Regions from separate parts of the Homo sapiens genome. Here regions 1, 2 and 3 are each linked to region 4. The links are contacts of gene promoters, found by promoter capture Hi-C in human tissues and cell types (Jung and others, 2019). All regions are on one chromosome and are shown on one strand. The core of a region is centred on a gene start or on the middle of the fragment in contact, and the rest is flanking DNA. Distances in the headings are between cores, read along the strand shown. Region 1 has its middle 300 kb from the start of LINC00992. Region 2 has its middle 280 kb from the start of LINC00992. Region 3 has its middle 320 kb from the start of LINC00992. Region 4 holds the start of SEMA6A (semaphorin 6A).

Region 1 (3,276 bases), core at 646-3,145, 550 kb before region 4:
GTGCTGAGAGAAAATAACTGCCAACCCTCAGCTCTATACTGTATAATTTTAAAATTCAAAATACTTAGAAAAGTAAAATTCCTTTTAGCGATGACATTTGATAAACAAATACGGAATCTCACTCTCCTCCTTCCCTCCAAATGCCTATGGGCACTTCTCATGGGCCAACCCCATCTAGAAACCATTGGACAAAGGAACCCATGGATGCAGTTCATATAGTTTAGGCTCCAGGGATAGTCAGCAAGGTGAACAAGGATGGAAATACATCTAGAGGTGTAAATAAAAGAGACTGAACTACTTCTCCAATTTATGCACCATCTATCTTGTAGTAAAGTATACATTATTGAATTTTGGAGCAATCATAATATTTAAAATATTTTATCAATACTCGGACACTTAAATACCAAAATAAATAATGATAGTAATGAATTATAATCTATAGATAAAATAAGAATCAGTATATACTGATATACATAAATAAGGAAAAATAAAGAAAGCGAGTAGAAGGTTAACTAATAAACATAGCGAAAAATGGTACAGTTAGAAAATCACCATTTTGCAGCCATTACAATTGATTGTAATAATTGATTCAGGCAAGAATCATCAATGGACACTAAGCCTAGTAAGTGAAAGTTTAATTAGAAACAGGATATTTACATACCCAAAAAGTATCTCTTCTTGAACTACTTTTAAGATAAAAAAGGAAAACAGTAATTTTAGAGTGGAGAAATTTGGTGTAAACTAAGTGATCGGGTATTAACCAAGTGATCAAAAGTAAGAGAAAAATGACTTCATGAGCCTTCTAAAATAACACACTGAGAAGGACACATCATTTATGCAGTAAAGACATAATTTGGACATAATTATGAGGAAACTTCAGACAAATCCAAATTGAGGGATAACTTATGAAATGAATGATTGGTATTCTTCAAAAATGTCAATATCATAGAGCAGCAGTTCCCAACCTTTTTGGCACCAGGGACCGGTTTCGTGGAAGACAATTTTTCCACTGCCAGGCTTAGGGGACGGGTTGCTCTTGGGATGAAACTGTTCTACCTCACATCATCAGGCATTAGTTAGATTCTAATAAAAAGCAGAAAACCTAGCTCCCTCACAGGCCCTGTTCACAATAGGGTTTGTGCTCTTATGAGAATCTAATGCTACCGCTTATCTGACTTAAGGCGGAACTCAGGTGGTAACGCTAGCCCACCAGCTGCTCACCTCCTGCTGTGCAGCCTGGTTCCTAACAGGCCACAGACCCACACAGGTTCGTGACCTGGGAGTTGGGGACCCCTGTAAAGAACAACAACAACAAAAAGGCTGGAAAATTCCTCCAGGTTAAAGGAGACTAAAATGACATGACAAAGAAAATGCAATGCATGATCATAAATTAGATTCTGGGATGAAAAAAAAAATGCTCTAAAGGACCTTAACTGTACAATTAGCAAATTTGAACATGTATTATAGATAAGATAAATGTATTTGATTAAATGTTGAATTTTGTTAAGTTTTCTGATTTTGATGATACTGAGTTAATATAAGAGATTGTTCTTATTCTTAGTAAATAAAGACTGAGACTGAAGTGTTTGTTGTTGTTGTTGTTGTTTGCTGTTGTTGTTGTTGTTGTTTGAGATGGAGTCTCGCTCTGCCGCCCAGGCTGGAGTGCAGTAGTGCAATCTCAGCTCACTGCAAGCTCCGTCTCCGGGGTTCATGCCATTCTCCTGCCTCAGCCTCCTGAGTAGCTGGGACCATAGGCGCCCGCCACCACGCCCGGCTAATTTTTTTTTTTTGTATTTTTAGTAGAGACGCGGTTTCACCGTTGTTAGCCATGAGGTCTCGATCTCCTGACCTCATGATCCGCCCACCTTAGTCTCCCAAAGGGCTGGGATTACAGGCGTGAGCCACGGCGCCCAGCCCAAGACTGAGGTATTTAAGGGAAGATGAATGTGATATCTACAACTTACTTTCAAATGAATTAAAAAAGAAATAATATATATTTCTTATATATTATTAGTAATATACATAATAAATGGGGGAGAGAGAAATGTCAAATAGAAAAATGCTGACAATTAATCTGAATAAAAGATATATGGGAATTTTTAGACTATTTTAGACTATTTTAGACAATTTTAGAATATTTTTCCAAATTTGAAATTATTTCAAAATAAAAAGATAAATAAGCAAACCACTCTACAAACCTCACTATGCATATCTTAGAAATTTTTACCATTATTCAAAATAAAGTTATTGACATAGGCACATTTTTCCATTTGTAATACATATGATATATGGAATGAACTGCGAATGATCTAAAAAGCTAGTTGGAAAATCAGATATAAAGTAACCAAGCCAATAGGCAATTTCCTTTTGTGAAATAAACACCTTTATTTCTGAAAATACATAATGAAGCATTGAAATGAATTTTCTTAAGTCTAGTTGCTGTACCAATAGTTTTAATAAACTTGTTCACTTCTTAGAAATTAAACAGAAAAAGAAAATACGTCACTCTTTCAGCTTGTGAATGAAATACCCACCCCTTGTTAGCACAGGAGGCTCCCCAGGACTAATGGCATTCTAGGAGAGGAGGAAACAATAAATCAGGAGAGCCTGTGGCCTAAGAGAGCTCTCTAGACACCTGTCTTCCTGGGCCCTGCTCCTTGGCTGAGGTGTCATGGTGCCCACTGATTTGCACACTATCCAAGGTCAGTCTCCTTCTCCTGGAAACTTCCTCCTATCCCCACTTCCCAGAATTCATAGATTTTATAGGCACAGCCATAAACTAAAAGCTTACAGACAAAATTTTGCCCCATAGACTTAGGCCCCACCTTACTGACGTCAGTGCTTTTATTTTTAATGGGCCAAAATTTAAATCTGGAAATTTTGACATAAAAAATCTAGATTTTTAACTTAAAAGACAATCTAAAGATCTGGCAACCCTGTGCCTGATTCTCAAATGAAACTATTTAGCTGGAGCTGAGCTACAGCAAAACCTTTCAGATTGGGGAACTTGCTGCTTAGCTGCAATGGTCTCTTCCATTCCTTATTATCTTACCCCAGGCTACTTCTTTGCTTATATCACTTACCTGGCCCCAGTCAGCGTTTAAGTTTGGGCCCCAAATCTGGGATAGACAAACAAGTTTCCACATGCACATTATTTGTATCATCCATATTTAACTTTGTATGAACCAGTTCATGTGATAAGTACAACAGATTCTGGTAACTAGTAATTTTAACCCTATCAACATAGTGAAATTCTATGGTAATTGTCACCTAGGG
Region 2 (3,206 bases), core at 597-3,096, 560 kb before region 4:
TGTCATTCCAATAAAAGTCTTGTCTATCAATTTAATAAAATAGCAACCATTCATTTATTATAATTCACTATATTAACTGTGTACACCTATCTGATACAATCTTATGTACATCTCAGGACAGGATCATACTTATGTATCTGTGGGAAATAATCCTTCTTCGAATTAGATGCTGCATTAGCCTGATATTATCAGATTTTAGACACGATAACACTTAGTTTAGAGTCATGTATATATTTTTGCACTGCATGGATATTACATAATATTGAGATTACATAATAATGAGATTATGTAATAATAATTATTACATAATAATGAGATTATGTAATAATTATTACATAATAATGAGATTATGTAATAATAATTATTACATAATAATGAGAGAAAACTGGTTTCTATTAAATGTATGTGAGGCAATATTGTGGTTTATAAAGGCATTTCTAAGATCGCTTCACATTCAGCTATATTTATTTTCTTGATAATTGTCCTGCATAGATTGATGTTTGCTATATATTCACTTACTTCTTTCCTTTTATGATTTTAATAAAACAGTTTCAAAAAATTTACCTCAATTCTGAAAGACAACACCATTAAAAAAGAAATTATTAAAAGGCAGAAATTATTGATTTAGGATACCAGATTAAAAGAATGAAATTTATACCATCTGACCACATAAAAAGTAAGCTGGTCTCTGCATACAAAGTGAAATAAAGAACTGAGACAAATTTATCTGCACAATAAAAGCTAAAGTATCACTTTTATCTATAATATTTAGATTATTTCTGTATTGTAAGATATTTCTATATTGTACTACATAAATAATTTCTCAAAGTCTGTCATATATAATGAGTTCCTAAATTGTCTTCCAGCTCCATATCTCCATGAGTTTATTTGAAAATGTTGATCCTGTTTTGGAGAAGTGAAACATGATAGGATCTAGTTGTCCATATATATATATAGCATAAAAGTTGGTTTATAAGCTAAGATGCTGAAAAATTAGAATTAAAACTTGTGGCTAATACAAAATTTAGCTTAAATAAATTGCTTCTAAGGAGCTGGTTACAAAAGGAAGATAATCCACCCATGTTTACTATAAATGAAACAGAGACTGCATTGATTGCTAGAAGATGATATACAACCTCTTTGCAGGCTGTGAGGCAAATCCACTTGGGAGTATCTTCTGTTCTGATAAGAGACCTTAAAGGTCCTTTGCCTGGGTCAATATAAATCATGGTTCTCATTCTGCTGGTTCCTTGTCTCTGCACCTAACTCCTCAACTCTTGTTGGTCTTTTGGTTCCAAAATTGTTGCTGCACTTTGGACTATTAAGATTATGCATTTTTTTATGGACAAGAGCTCAGCCTTGAACCTCTTGATCTCCTCCACATTGACCACTTAACTCATATGGGCCTTCATGTATTACTTGTCGACACATCTAATATCTTTGACCAATAGCTCCTAAGGACTACAAACAACACTTTATGTACTGATCATCATCTAGATACCCTATTATTTACAACAGGGCTTGCCAATAAGCACACTGGCATATGTTTTTCCCAGTTGCCAAAGTTTTCAATATTTATACCTAATTACAATGAGCTATCCTTGACAGGTTCTTATTCTGATTGAAAAACATGATGTCCTACACCCAGAATTATTTGTAGATATTTATCAGAATTCATGAACCAGCATTTGCATGACTTTGAAGTGTTAGATGCTGAGGCCAGAGAATGCTTATGTAATGATGCTTAACAACTAAAACTGTAACTAATGGGAGTTTAAATAGGTAGTGTAGTGACTGAACACCTCATTGCACTAGTAATATTTATTGATCTCACTATGTGGAAAACAACTTGGCTTTGAATCCTTGAGCTTCTAGAAAGGTCAGGAGGGACGAGAAAACCACCTAAGATCTGGGTAGTCACTGAGTTGTACTTAAATTTGTAAAATATGAGAAAATAATGATTGTGTCCTCCTCTCATAAAATATGAAAACCAAAACAAAACAGGGGTAGCAAAGTATGCTAAAAGTTTTATTGCTGCTGCTCCAGTCAGTAAGGCCCTGCCATTCCACACATGGAATGACCTGTTGTGATGGCCATTTGCAGACAAGATAGAAAAGCACAGGCAGAGTCATGTGGTGTCCCCTTTCTGCACCCTATGTGTATGTGGTACTCCTTCTCTTGGCACCTACACAAAAATCATTCCTGCGTAGCATAGAATTGGGTTAAGGTGAACTATTCTAAGGACAACATCCTGAAATCAAAGGAACAGATGTAGCAGCATTTCTCAAGTGACAGCATTCCACAATGATCACTTTCTAATCCAACCAGAATCTGTGTAGGCAGTTTCACTTATGTGTTTATACGTTACATGAATGAGTGATCTATTCCAAACTGCTTGTTCTTTTAGTATTTCTCTTTCTCCCTGAAAATAAAGAGTTGCTTAGGCCCAAGAGTTGACCAGATGGACTGCACAAAGGTGTGCTGATACCATTTGTGCAGTGAATGGAAGAGATGATTTCAGAGCTCTCCTATTCTCAAAGGATCTAGGCTTCCATCTGTTGGGAATGGCCAAAGTCAATCTTAATAGTCCAGTTTAGGTGTTGAATTCATTCAGTCACTTAGAGAACTCCCTATCAGGGCCAGTCTCTCATTGTTTTCCAGTTTTATATGACAATTTAGAGCCCCATGTGTGCAAAGCAGTTTGGGTCACAATAGGAAAAGTACACCAAACCTGCCCAAGTAATATCATTTTTGTTTTCTTAGAAAAGGGAAGAAAAAGAGGCATACTGTGGTTAATGTTTTCCTTAGGTGATAAATCAAGGGCAGAGACAGGAAGGGGACACAAGTTTTCTAGTTCTCACCTACAGCAATGCCAAGTAGTCACACAAAAGTTTTATTGCTTATGACAGCAGCCAAGTAAAAGAAGACAAAGCAAGAATCGGCAGCTTATGTTTTTACCATTACCAACACCCTTCCCACAATTGTTTTAAGCAATATGGTTTGATGTTAATCAACTCCTTAAAAGCCACCCATCTTTTTCTATAGCAGTGATTGTCTATTATTTTCTACAAACAAGTCCTTGCACAGTTTGACTAGGCTGGAATTAAGGAGGAATAGTAGATCTCCTCACCAATGTCCTGATTGCGAAAGTCATCATTGAGAACAGCCACAGGGAACTCATGGACCTGCCACCTCATTTGAAAGAG
Region 3 (2,930 bases), core at 414-2,913, 520 kb before region 4:
TGCCACTGCCCAGGATTTTAGTAGATGTACCTATCTCCAGGCACTTCTCTCTCCCAACAAAGTAAACAGCCAAGTGTATTGTTCAGAGCTTTTTCTAATACAAGGATTTTCCATTACACTATTCCATAGTGCTAGCTCTGAGTGGGGCTGTAATGCAGCAGTGGTTCATTACAGGTAGCTGTAATAAACCTGTACCTCTATTGGAGCAGTATCTCTATTGCATTGACCCATATGTGAACGAGGTTTTGCCATCCATGAGTTGCTCATAGAGAACCCCTTATGAAGCCATACTGTGAGCTTACAAAGAGGGACTGATGTCATGGTAGTAGGGAACACAAAGGTCTGGCCTGCCTATTTATGAAATATATTAGTGTCTTCTGATTCTATCCAGGCCTGATCCTAAATATGGCATTTTTAATCATATAATGCATTACTGTTGCCTTGCCTCATCTCATGACTTGGTGCAACTGATAACACATGGTTCATGATGGGTAGTTCTAATTGCATAGACAGTGAGTGAACCTTAGTGAGACCTTCAGTCACTAGGGTTAAGCCTGCCAGGAAGTGTGGTGGGGTTTTTTTGTTTTTGTTTTTGTTTGAGATGGAGTTTTGCTCTCGTTGCCCAGGCTAGAGTGCAATGGTATGATCTTGGCTCACGGCAACCTCTGCCTCCCAGGTTCAATCGATTCTCCTATCTTAGCCTCCTGAGTAGCTGGGATTACAGGGGCCCACCACTATGCCTGACTAAATTTTGTTATTTTTAGTAGAGATGGGGTTTCACCAGGTTGGCCAGGCTGGACTCAAACTCCTGACCTCAGGTGATCCGCCCACTGCGGCCTCCCAAAGTGCTAGGATTACAGGCGTGAGCCACCGCGCCCAGCCAGAAACTGTGTTTTTAACAAAGGGTAGTTGTTTCCCGCAGAAAGCAGGACCTTACTTCAGAACTCTATGAGTCAGCCCTGCAATTTTCCTATGGGAATCTGCCAAAAATGCCTTTATAGCATCCTTATCCATAGTGGATACATTTAATGCCTTCAAATCTGCTGGGTGATAGAGACTGAGCAGCAGAGCAACAGACTGCCTCAGCTGCAGAGGCCTCTTGTTCTGGACATTACTCAAATCTGGTATCCTGGAAAGTCACTCAAAAATGGGTCAAAGCTGTCATCTCAAGCACACTATATGATGACTCCAATATCCAGTGGCCCAAGAGGCAGATGATATAACAACCTATCCTTTACTTTAAAGGGAATGTCCCAGGGTGCCCATACCATTGGCATTGACATTATCAATGTGTATGTATTGGTTTGCCATTGCTGCATAACACACTGCCACAAACTTAATAGCTTAAAACAACACATTTTTATTTTCTCATAGTTTCTGCAGTTCATGGAGGAAACTAAGCTAAGCCCGGCTTAGCTGGATTCCCTGCTTCAAGGTCTTATCAGGCTGTAACCTACATGCGACTGAAGCTGAGGTCTCATCAAAGGCTTGGTAAAGTCCACTCCCAAGCTTCCTCAGTTTGTTGACAGAATTCCTCTCCATGCAGCTATGTGGCTGAGTTCCCATTTTCTTGCTGGCCATGGGCTAGGGGCCACCCACAGTTCCCAGAAGCTGCTCACAGTTTCCTGCCAAACATGGCCATTTGCTTCTGTAGGGCCAGTAGAAGAATACCTTTCTTAAGAAAGGGCCCAGTCCCTCTTTTATGGGCTTTCACCTGATTAAGCCTGTTTTAACTGGAATAAACTCCCTCTTGACTAACTCAAAGGCAACTTATATGGGACCTTAAATACATCTTCAAAGGCCTCCACCTTTGCCATAAAACAAAATCTAATCGTGGGAGCGAAGTCATTTCCTAGCCCGAGGTTATATGGCAGGTGTACATCAGGGACTGGGAGTCTTGGGGTCCAGTTCAAAATTCTGCTTACCACTGTGTATTCTGCCAATCTAAGCATGATGCCATTCATCTATTTTGAAAATACTCAGCCTTTGTCTCTTGAATTTATGCTTCTCACCCACATCCTCTACTTTTTTCCTCTGGAGTTCTCACTGGATATTCTCGGTGAACTCACCTTCATGTCTCTTATATGTTTAATTTTTTTGTGTTCCTGTGCTTCATTCCGGGTCACATATTTAAGTTTCTATTCCAAACCTGTATCTAGTATTCTCTTTGGCAATAAAGTGACTATAGAATGAAAAAGAGAAGGTCAATGTGACAAATGGCTAAGGAAAAGGCACAGCTACAAAATAAATGTTGATAAAAAGGTAAAAATTTGAGAAGCATATTTTAGAGAAATTAAATTTAAAACTTTATATTGTAAAAGAACATAAAATAAATTAAGAATACTAAATTTTAAAATAGGAAATATCAGTGTGAACTCATGACCTAAAATAAATATATTTTCCAGCTCAGTCACTAAAGCAGCCTATAGCTACATCATCTTCCCACCCACTGTTTTCAGGAGGAACATCAGATGGGTATCGTTAACTTTTTTGTTTTCTAAATACTATTCTCTATTAGATAGAAATAAATTTTCTTGCAGAATAGGAGAGCCCTGGTCTCAGAACAGGAAACAATGCAATATGGGCCCAGAATCTGTTTTTACTGCCGGAAAAGGTGAAAATTTCCCAAGTGTCTGAAGCAGTGGCGAAAGAAAGCCTGTTTAGAGCATGCAACATTTGGCCAGATTGTGACAAAGTAACAGAAAAAAATCAAGTCACTACAGCTAAGTAAAAGAGGTCAAGTAGATAAAAAGTAGAATCTTTAAAAAAAAAAAAAAAAGTCAAAAATAGTGTACAAAAAGGTAAGTTTACAGAAAGGGACATATAATAAAAATAAAGAATGAATAGGATATGTTTAGCACATTTTTATTATGTTTTATTACCAGAGAGTATTATCCTCATAGCTGTTAATTTTTTTTATAATAAGAACT
Region 4 (2,925 bases), core at 48-2,547:
TCGTGAAGCCTCTTAAGCAGATGTCTGTACTTAGAGAAGCGACCAAAGAGGGAACGTGGACTTATTAGTGGTCTTAGTCCCAATTAGGGAACAGGTACAGTTTCCAATATAAAGAAACTCGGCCTAAGTGGGACTGAGACCCCGATCTCCGCACTTGCTTTTCTCAGCCAACTCCATGACTAGTAAATATCTCTCCGAGAACTGCTGGGCCGCCCGATGTTACTTTGTTTAAAGGTTGCGACTAGGATCCGTACCATCTGCGAAGCCCCCTTGGGGAGCAAGAGCCGCGGCGCGCAGTTGATTTCGGGGCGCAGCGGCAGGGGGAGGGGAACGTGGTGTGGCCCGACGAGTTGGCACAAGCCTGTAACTGCAAGACTTTGTAGCTATTGAAAGTTCAAGTGGTGAAAGAAGGCTGTGCCTGCCATTCTTCATGTGATCATAACAATAGCGCCTTGGAAGTGGTTGCGATTTTCTTCTTCCATAAACCTTTTGGGTTCTCACTGGAATTGTATGCGTGTTATTTCTGAAGTTTACTTATTTCTAAGACCAGTCCACAAAATGTGAACTTCATTAAGTTTTAAAATAGATCGCCGTCGTTAAAAACGCCATTCTCTGCACTGTAGTTTATTTGCTTACTTCACATGCTTTATTAACGTGTGTATGTGCGTAATTAATAGCTGTGTTCTTATCTTCCAAGTGTATTTTTAACCGCACCGGCTTCTATCCAATTCATCTAACTACGTAGAGCGTCCATCGCTTCTGGAATCTACCTCTTGATAACAGTAATCAGAATCAGAAAAGCTCGCCGTTCACTTACCCTCATCCTTTAAAACTTTTCCATTTAAGAAAATCGATGAACAAAACCTTTCTTGTAACTCGCTCCTGCACTACGTCTATTTTTATTTATTTTTCTGATTTGGCAGGACTCAGCAATGCTGTCCGGGATTTTTTTTTTCTTTTTTTTTTTCCTAGCTAGAGCAGATGTGGGGGTGGGGGAGGTGAGGGCTGGGCTCCAGCCAGAGTCGCCCCCGCTGAGCCTCCGCCTAGCGCGCGGTGGGGCCAGGAATCCTGGTGGAAGGAAGCGGCGCTGGCCAGTTGGTCCAAGGCTCCACCTGCAGCCACACCGCGTAGTTTCTCCGCCTCTGCCTCGCTCACTCGCACTCACATACACCACAGCTCTCCTTTGGGTCGGAGGAGACGCCAGCCAAAGTAGGCGGAGTTGCGGAAGGAGAGTCCGATCTGCGCAATCCAGTCCGGGACTTGGCTCCGCCCGGGAGCGGCGGCCTCTCCGGTGACAGAGGAGTAGTGAGCGGCACGGGGTGAGGCTGCAGCCAACTCCGCTCCCCGCGCACTCGGCTGCCCAGGCGCTCGGAACCCAGCAGCGGCGCTCCTCCGCGGTGCCGGTCGCCCGCGATGCCCGCTTAGCAGCGTGTAGCAGCGGCCAGCATCACCACACCCGCGGCACCGCGCTGCCGGCCGCAGAGCCGGGCCAGAGCCTTGCACCCCTGCCCCAGCCCCCACCCCGCCCCCCGCCCTGAAATGACTTGTTAATCGGCGCAGACACCACCAAGGGGACTCACCGAAGTGGAATCCAAGTGGAATTTGGATTTGGAGAAGAGTTTCTTGAACATTTACCCTCTTCCTTGTTGGTTTTCTTTTTCTTTTTCTTCTTTTTTTTTTTGGCTTCTTTTTTCCTCTCCCCTTCTCCGCTCGTCATTGGAGATGAACACATCGCGTTTGCATCCCAGAAAGTAGTCGCCGCGACTATTTCCCCCAAAGAGACAAGCACACATGTAGGAATGACAAAGGCTTGCGAAGGAGAGAGCGCAGCCCGCGGCCCGGAGAGATCCCCTCGATAATGGATTACTAAATGGGATACACGCTGTACCAGTTCGCTCCGAGCCCCGGCCGCCTGTCCGTCGATGCACCGAAAAGGTACGCCCCGGGCGCCCGGGCGCGCCCCACCTCCCGGGCAGCTGGACTCCAGCCTGAGGGTCCCGGGGCCGTGGCTAGCGCGTGCTGTCGGCTTTGTGGTGCCTGCGTTTTATTTTGTCTTGTGTCTCTGTTTCCCGAGCCTTGCCCGGTCCTGGGGGAGCAGCCGTGAGCCCTGCCTGCCTTTCCTCTCTGCCCTGCGCCCCAGAGTGCGTCCGGCTCCACGTCGAGAGCTTTCCCACCCGCGTTGCGCACACGCCCGGCGCCGCCCCGGGCCGCGACGGCGCGTATGGCTGTTCCTCCTGGGGGTGTGTGTGCGAGACCCAAGGCTCATCCTCCCGCGTGCCCAGCAGGGAGCAGAGCGGGCCCTAAATGGTGGGATTCTCGGAAGCTCCCTGGCCCGGTGTGTCGAAGGCAGGGGAAGGGGTTCTGCCCTCGAGGGCTGGAGGGGGTTGGGTATAACAGCGCTGTTTTCGTCCAGTGCCAGGTGGGAGAAGGGGTTCCGCGGAGACGGTGTGGAAGCGGAGAGAATCTTTTGTTGTCAGTGTGGGGTCTGGGCTGGGCTCCGTGGAGTGCAAGAAACTTGTAATGGCTCTAGGCACCCGCGCGCCCTGTCTCTCGGTGAGATCCTGGCTCCTGTGGCCGCTGCCACCAGAGGTTCCGGGCTTTGTTTGCTCGAATAAGTGTCCGGGAGCAGCCGTTCGGGTGACGCGGCGCCCCCGCCATGGGTCCTGTCCCCCGCCGCAGCTCCCAACCCGAGCGGCAAGGATATAGCCCGTCGCGGCTGCGTCCCTCCTGAAGCACCGAGCCCTTTGCACCGGGCTGGCGCACGGTACGCCCTCCTCCCAGATCAGCGCGGTCTCGCTCTGGAAAGATGACCCAGGAGGGGGAAGGGTGAGAGACCTGGCAGAAGATGGCCCTGGGTTTGAAACCCAGACTAGGGCTCTGTTCCGACTCCTCACTGTGTCCTAGGGCGCTACCATGGGGGCAATG

Evidence for each region. Contacts are between HindIII fragments. The study calls those that stand out against the background at their distance.
Region 1: a contact is called between a fragment that was not itself captured here and the fragment with the promoter of SEMA6A in region 4, in 1 of the 25 tissues and cell types used here (mesenchymal stem cells).
Region 2: a contact is called between a fragment that was not itself captured here and the fragment with the promoter of SEMA6A in region 4, in 1 of the 25 tissues and cell types used here (lymphoblastoid cells).
Region 3: a fragment that was not itself captured here is called in contact with the fragment with the promoter of SEMA6A in region 4 in 1 of the 25 tissues and cell types used here (dorsolateral prefrontal cortex).

What each region holds. Positions count from the first base shown.
Region 1 is chr5:117,118,719-117,121,994 of GRCh38, reverse strand. No RefSeq gene overlaps it. Among named protein-coding and RNA genes, the nearest start is that of LINC00992, 300 kb to the left of the region's middle. The HindIII fragment of the contact is 7,552 bases long and covers 1-3,276 here.
Region 2 is chr5:117,135,823-117,139,028 of GRCh38, reverse strand. No RefSeq gene overlaps it. Among named protein-coding and RNA genes, the nearest start is that of LINC00992, 280 kb to the left of the region's middle. The HindIII fragment of the contact is 6,383 bases long and covers 1-3,206 here.
Region 3 is chr5:117,098,556-117,101,485 of GRCh38, reverse strand. No RefSeq gene overlaps it. Among named protein-coding and RNA genes, the nearest start is that of LINC00992, 320 kb to the left of the region's middle. The HindIII fragment of the contact is 5,178 bases long and covers 1-2,930 here.
Region 4 is chr5:116,573,195-116,576,119 of GRCh38, reverse strand. It overlaps SEMA6A (semaphorin 6A), which reads left to right and starts at 1,297. Exons shown (of 19, transcript NM_020796.5): 1 at 1,297-1,935. SEMA6A-AS2 (SEMA6A antisense RNA 2) reads right to left here and starts at 1,702. Exons shown (of 3, transcript NR_147170.1): 1 at 1,581-1,702. RefSeq lists a silencer at 1,462-1,541. The HindIII fragment of the contact is 11,240 bases long and covers 1-2,925 here.